Linked DNA regions of Homo sapiens: region 2 is linked to region 1. The links are contacts of gene promoters, found by promoter capture Hi-C in blood cells and fetal thymus (Javierre and others, 2016). All regions are on one chromosome and are shown on one strand. Each heading gives the region's core, a stretch centred on a gene start or on the middle of the fragment in contact. The rest is flanking DNA. Distances are from core to core; before and after follow the strand shown.

The links. Contacts are between HindIII fragments. The CHiCAGO score rates a contact against its expected background, and 5 or more counts as called.
Region 2: a fragment that was not itself captured here is called in contact with the fragment with the promoter of CLPB in region 1 in 1 of 17 cell types (M1 macrophages); the score reaches 6.1 in M1 macrophages.

Annotation. Positions count from the first base shown.
Region 1 is chr11:72,432,931-72,436,753 of GRCh38, reverse strand. It overlaps CLPB (ClpB family mitochondrial disaggregase), which reads left to right and starts at 2,223. Exons shown (of 16, transcript NM_001258392.3): 1 at 2,223-2,682. The coding sequence starts at 2,280. RefSeq lists enhancers at 1,272-2,078, 2,142-2,601. The HindIII fragment of the contact is 13,854 bases long and covers 1-3,823 here.
Region 2 is chr11:72,258,217-72,262,039 of GRCh38, reverse strand. No RefSeq gene overlaps it. Among named protein-coding and RNA genes, the nearest start is that of PHOX2A, 16 kb to the right of the region's middle. The HindIII fragment of the contact is 1,643 bases long and covers 894-2,536 here.

The sequences.
Region 1 (3,823 bases), core at 974-3,473:
AGCAGAGAATATACAATGATAGCTACCATTTCTTGAAGACCTACTGTGAGCCAGGGACAGTGTTAGGGGCTTTCTACATATTATCTTATTTAATACAAGCAATCATCTTGAAGGCAGGAATTGATATCTTCAACAATGAGTAATTAACTACCAGAGAGGTAAAGGGAGTTTGTCCAAGGTCACCCATATAAATGCAAGAGTCAAAATTAAAATCCACGTCTGCCTGAATGCCAAAGCTCAAGTACTCTCCAACACTAATAAGGTGAGAGTAATCCATTCACTGAAAAAAATATTTGAGTGCCTCAGGCCGGGCGCGGTGGCTCACACCTGTAATCCCAGCACTTTAGGAGGCCGAGGCAGGTGGATCACGAGGTCAGGAGATCGAGACCATCCTGACTAATACAGTGAAACCCCGTCTCTACTAAAAATACAAAAAAATTAGCCGAGCATGGTGGCGGGAGCCTGTAGTCCCAGCTACTCGGGAGGCTGAGGCAGAAGAATGGCGTGAACACAGGAGGCTGAGCTTGCAGTGAGCTGAGATCGTGCCACTGCACTGCAGCCTGGGCGACAGAGCAAGACTCTGCTTCAATAAATAAATAAATACATAAAAATAAAAAAACTGAGTGCCTCTTTTGTTCCAGACATTGTTCTGAGTGCTAGTGATATAAAAGTGAAAAAACAAAGTCCTTGTCTCATGGGGCTCATGCTGTAGTGGAGAAAGACAATAAAAATGTAGTATGTCAGATGGTGATAAATGCTGTGAAGGAAAATTAGGATGGGGTGCGTAGGATTACTATTTTAACCAGAATGGTCAGGGAAGACTCTGATCATGTGAAGTCTGAGCAGACGTACAAGACTTGGAAGAAACAGAACTGGCACAAAGAAGAACTTCCTCCTTTGCCTACCTATGGGTTCAGTTTGGAAAAGAGGGGGCGGGATGGGAGTGCAGGTGTTAATGGAAACTATATGCTCAAAATCAGAAGACCTGAGCATTACTTTACTCCAGGTGATTTACTGGCAAATCTTTTCACCTTTGAGCCTCAATTCCCTTCACTGTAGACGGGAATAACAGTTCTTGCCCAGCTTCTCACACACAGCTGCCATGAGGATCAGATGAGATGACCCACTTGAAAGCCCTTTAAAAATAACACAATCAGGGCCAGGCGCAGTGGCTCACGCCAGTAATCCCAGTACTTAGGGAGGCTGAGGCAGGTGGGTCGCTTGAGGTCAGGAGTTGGAGACCAGCCTGGCCAACATGGTGAAACCCCGTCTCTACTACTAAAAATACAAAAATTAGCCAAGCGTGGTGGTGCGTGCCTGTAATCCCAGCTACTCGGTAGGCTGAGGTGGGAGAATCGCTTGGACCAGGGAGACGGAGGTTGCAGTGAGCCGAGATGGCGCCACTGCACTCCAGTTTGGGCGGCAGAGTGAGATTCTGTCTCAAAAAAAAAAAAAAAAAAAAGACCGGAAGTCAACTCTTCAAATAAAATGTATTCCTATCTCAGGTGCAGTAGTTACCCTAAACATCTTTTTGAAAGGCCGCCCAGGCTGAAAAAAGAGATAGGCTAAACTAAATAAGCATAAGTTTCATAATATGCCTCTGCTGAAGATTCTTGGGTAATTTACACCAGTCAAAAATTGTGGGCCGGGCGCGGTGGCTCACGCTTGTAACCCCAGCATTTTGGGAGGCCGAGGCGGGCGGATCGCCTGAGGTCAGGAGTTAGAGACCAGCCTGGCCAACGTGGTGAAACCCCGTTTCCACTAAAAATACAAAAATTAGCTGGGCATGGTGGCGGGCGCCTGTAATCCCAGCTACTCGGGAGACTGAGGTAGGAGAATTGCTTGAACACAGGAGACGAAGGTTGCAGTGAGCCGAGATCGCGCCACGGCACTCCGGCCTGTGAGACAGAGCGAGACTCCGTCTCAAAAAAAAAAAAAAAAAAAAAGTGTGTCGTGTGCTTCAACTAAACTAGGAAAGAAGTCTTGGGATTCTAATCTTTAACTCTAATCGCCACGCCCCTTCACCCGAACTCTATTTCCCAATATGCCCCGGGCTTCTATAATCCCGCAGTCATTGTGACGCAATCCCACAGCCTTCTGGGAAACGTAGTTTATTTATTCTCCAGCTGGGGAAAGGCTTAGGGCTGTGGACTACCTCTCCCGTGAGGTAGTGCGCAACTCCACCCTGTTCGCGGCGTCTTCGAACGCGCCGCGGCAGCCATGTTGGACGTGGTCAGCACAGGGGCCGGCACCACGGGGTTATCGAAGCAGCTGTCAAGATGCTGGGGTCCCTGGTGTTGAGGAGAAAAGCACTGGCGCCACGGCTACTCCTCCGGCTGCTCAGGTCCCCAACGCTCCGGGGCCATGGAGGTGCTTCCGGCCGGAATGTGACTACTGGGAGTCTCGGGGAGCCGCAGTGGCTGAGGGTAGCCACCGGGGGGCGCCCTGGAACATCGCCGGCCTTGTTCTCCGGACGTGGGGCAGCCACCGGGGGGCGCCAGGGAGGACGCTTCGATACCAAATGCCTCGCGGCTGCCACTTGGGGACGCCTTCCTGGTCCCGAAGAAACACTCCCAGGACAGGACAGCTGGAACGGGGTCCCCAGCAGGGCCGGACTGGGCATGTGCGCCCTGGCCGCAGCGCTGGTGGTTCATTGCTACAGCAAGAGTCCGTCCAACAAGGGTGATTATGAGATCTGGGTTTGAGGAAGGGAGAGGCGGGAAGATTGTCCTAACTTCGTATCTTAGGAGGGTGGGAGGTACTTATAGGTTTAGATCCTTAGAGCCTAAGTCTTGGAGGGACTCAGACATCATCTGGTTACAGGGGCAGGGTGTTGCCCTAGAGACCTCATCACCTCGGAGTTGTATAATCTCGTACCATAGATCCGCTTCCCCTCTCTGGGCATCATTTTATCCATCTGTACAATGGGGATATTGGACTAAACATCTAATATTATAGCATGGTCCCCTTATGTTTCTCATATTCTGCCTGGTCCAATTCCTCTTTCCTGAGATCTCCAGGAAACGGAAATTATGGGGTGTTTTAAGGGCAACCGCCAGATGGTTTAGAGAAGTTGCCAAACCGCTCCCCCCTACCCCCCGCCACCAAAGGTGCCAGAGTCAGGAACAACCTGACTCGGTTCTAATGCCAGCTTGACCTCAATTTATTTATTTATTTATTTATTTATTTATTTATTTATTTATTTATTTATTTCTGAGATGGAGTCTTGCTCTGTCGCCAAGCTGGAGTGCAGTGGCGCAATCTCGGCCCACTGCAACCTCCGCCTCCCGGGTTCAAGCTATTCTCCTGCCTTAGCCTCCCAAGTAGCTGGGACTACAGGTGCGGGCCACCACACCCAGCTAATTTTTGTATTTTTAGTTGTTGGTCAGGATGGTCTCGATCTCTTGACCTCCTGATCCACCCGCCTTGGCCTCCCAAAGTACTGGGATTACAGGCGTGAGCCACCGCGTCTGACCAATTTCTTTATTTATATAGTGAAGGATAGTTTCCCAACATTTTTACAGTACTGTTATTTTGACTCTTTTTGGAGTTCAGCGGCCTGAGTCTGTCAGTCTCAGGATTTTGCTGTGTCTGGTCTCACATGCTGTGAGGTGATCTTGCCATGTGGGATAGTTGGCAGGAGAAGGAAGGTGGATTCCTGGAGGCCCAAGGGCAACTGCTGGGGGACTGGCTGATCCCGATTAGCATCTCATTTGGATCCGGGGAGCTAAGCAGCAGCTGAGAGAGTGGACAGAGAGCCAGACTGATGACCTATGTGAGTCCAGCCATTCAGGTTCTTAGTTGTTCCTCAAGAAGAAAGACT
Region 2 (3,823 bases), core at 466-2,965, 170 kb after region 1:
GAATGGGACTCTGGGCCGGGCATGGTGGCACACGCCTGTAATCCTAACAATTTGGGAGGCTGAGGCAGTAGGATCACTTGAGCCCAGGAGTTTAATACCAGCCTGGGCAACATAGTGAGACCCCCATCTCTATTTTATTAAAAATTTAAAAAAATTTTTTTTTAATTTTTTTAAATAACAATTTAAAAATTTTTTAAAATAACAATTAAAAAAATTTTTTTAATAACAATTTTAAAAAATGGGACACTGGGCGTGGTAGCTCACACCTGTAATCCCAGCACTTTGGGAGGCCGAGGCGGGCGGATCACCTGAGGTTGGGAGTTCGAGACCAGCCTGACCAACATGGAGAAACCCCGTCTCTACTAAAAATACAAAATTAGCTGGGCGTAGTGGTTCATGCCTGTAATCCCAGCACTTTGGGAGGCCGAGGCAGGAGGATCACGAAGTCAGGAAATCAAGACCACCCTGGCCAATATGATGAAACCCCATCTCTACTCAAAATACAAAAATTAGCTGGGTGTGGCGGTGTGCAACTGTAGTCCCAGCTACTCAGATGGCTGAGGCAGAATTGCTTGAACCTGGTAGGCAAAGGTTGCAGTGAGCTGAGATCACGCCACTGCACCCCAGCCTGGAGACAAAGCAAGACTCCGTCTCAAAAAAAAAAAAAAAAAATTGAATGCAAAACTATAAAACTCCTAGAAGATAACATAAGACAAAATCTAGATGACCTTGGGTTTGGTGACGATTTTCTATGTACTTATTTATTTATTTTACTATTCTTAAAGTTTACTTACTACTATATAAATGAAGACGGTGATTTTTTTTAATACAACACCAAAAGCAGAATTCATGAAAGAAGAAACATATGTTAGACTTTACTAAAATTAAAAGCTTCTATTCTGCAAAAGATGCTTTTGAGAGAATGAAGACAAACCACGAACTGGGATAAAATCTTTGTAAAACACATATAAAGGACTGGTGTCCAAAATATACAAGAACTTTTCAAACTTGACAATAAAGAAACAATCACCCGATTTAAAAATTAGCAAAAGATAGGAACAGACACCTCACCAAAGGATATGTGCAGACAGCAAATAAATACATGAAAGATGCTCAACATTATGTCATCAGGGAATTGCAAATTAAAACAATAAATGAGATATCACTATGTACCTACTAGAATGGCTTAAATCCAAAACGCTGACGACAACAACTCATTAAGGCATTCAGGGTACCGAGTACTTTCTGCTATTTAGGATTTATCAGCACTTTATCATAATCATAGTTCGCCAGTGTAACGTGTTATGGGACTTTAAGATTATCAAAGTCCCTGTGTACTAAATTGTGGCACAGAGGCAGAGAGCTGACATAGTTCTTGAAGCAAAATAGTGAAAATGTACTTCTGCCCCTGCCAGGATAAACAAAATTACCTCTGGTCTTCTTTGCTTATTGAAATAGGGAAAAAACATTTGCAAGTTAATAACTTCATCGCAGGTGGGAGAGGCGCTGTTGATTTGCTCTAGTGGAGAAACCACATCTGCAAGAGCAATGCAACTGGAGTCATCACCTGTCTTAAACTTTCAATCATCCACCGTCATTCTCAAAGGCCCTTCTGACTTCTTTGTGAGCCAAACAGGTAAATTAAATGGATAAGTAACAAGAATTTTCACCTCTAAATTTTCAGATCTTTGATGGTTGCACTAATCTCGCATTTCCCCCAGCAAGGCATTATTGCTCTTTGTTTATAATTTAAATAGGGAGGAAGGTTTAGTGCTTTTGCTCGACCCTTTCAACCACATATTCCATGGACTGGAGAAACATGGGGATTCTGCCATTTGCTGAATGCATCTAGTCTAACTATACACTCGGGAACTAAAGAAATGATGGGAAAATGGGTTTAAGAACTGGGATGATAGTAAGGTAGACTGAAATCAAAAGTTGCAGCCAGGCACAGTGGCTCACACCTGCAATCCTAGCACTTTGGGAGGCCAAGGCAGGAGGATCACTTGAGCCCAGAGTTCGAGACCAGCCTAGGCAACATGGTGAGATCCCTGTCTTTACAAAAATTTAAAAAGAAAAAAAAAAGGTAGCTAGCCATGGTGGCACACGCCTGTAGTTCCAGCTAATCAGGAGGCTGAGACAAGGGGATGGCTTCAGTACAGGAGTTCGAGGCTGTAGTGGGTTATGATCATGCCACTGCACTCCACCCTGGGCAACATAGCAAGACCCTGTCTCAGAAAAAAAATCAAAAGTCAATTTATCACTTGACTCCATAAGCCTTCATTCACTCTGAGTGATTCATTAATCACTGTGCCAACTACAACTCCAAAGATTAGCATTAGAGCCAATGTCCAACACTCCCAAGGTCACAGTTACTGGATCTGTTTCCTAGGGCTGCCATAACAAAATATTATACACAAGGTAGCCTGAAACCACGGAAATTTATTCTCCATCTTCACATGGTGTTCCCTCTGTGTCCAAATTTCTCCTTTTTTATAAGGTTAGAAAAAGAAAGAAAAGAAAAGAAAAAAAAGCTTCTTCTAAGGAGACCATCATTGGATTAGGGCTAAACCAGTATGACCTCACCTTAACCTGATTGCAAATAAACTATTTCAAAATAAGGTCACCTATTTCACAGGTACTGGGGACCAGAACTTCAACATATCTTTTGGAGGAGACACAATTAAACCTACAATAGCTATCCTGGAAAATGACCACAGGCCTTTCTGGGGGACCCTATAAGGAATACAAAGGGAGGCAGGGCACTGTGGCTCATACCTGCAATCCCAGCACTTTGGGAGGCCGAGGTGGGCAGATCACTTGAGGTCAGGATTTCTAGACCAGCCTGGCCAACATGATGAAGCCCTGTCTCTACTAAAAACACAAAAATTAGCCGGGCATGGTGGTGGGCACTTGTAATCCCAGCTACTCAGGAGGCCGAGGCAAGACAATTGCTTGAACCCGGGAGGTGGAGGTTGCAGTGAGCCAGAATCATGCCACTGCACTCCAGCCTGGGTGACAGAGTGAGACTCTGTAAAAAAAAAAAAAAAAAAAAAAAAAGAAAGAAAGAAAGAAAGAAAGAAAGAAAGAAAGAAAGAAAGAAAGAAATATATAAGGAGGTATTTCTAAATCTTGCTTAAGTAAACTTGCCTTCACCCCATTCATGGGGCTGTAAGTCTGTGAACAAACCCAGGACAGGAAATTCAGTGAGAGATCATAACTCCATTATTCCCCATCCTATTGTCTTAAGTGGGTCCCCTTTTCACCAGTTCCAGAGGGTTTTGGGTTTTACAGATCAGTTAGAATCTTAGTGAACTGCTTACATTCTTTAATCCTAGGGACTCAGTGATCTCAAAATGATCAACCAGCAAAGATCTCTGCAGGTCAGACCACTCAGAGCAGCTGGCAATCAGAGTAACCACACCCAGCTTGCCCCTGGCAGTGAAGTACCCCACCCCACCCTCACAACCCTAGGATTCCATCATGTTGGTGGAAATGAGGGCACCTACATGGTGAGTGGTGGCTCATGCCTGCAATCTCAGCACATTGGGAGGCCAAGGTGGGAAGGTGGCTTAAACCCAGAAGCTCAAGGCAAGCCTGGGCAACATAGCAAGACCCTGTCTCTAAAAAATATATAATTTTTTAATTAGCTGGGCATGGTGGCATGCACCTGAAGTCCCAGCTACTTGGGAGGCTGAGGTGGGAGAATCACTTGAGCCCGGGAGGTGGAGGTTGCAATGAGTCATGATCATGCCACTGCACTCCAGCCGGGACAACAGAGCAAGATCCTGTCTCAAAAAAACAACAAAAAAAGGCCAGGCGC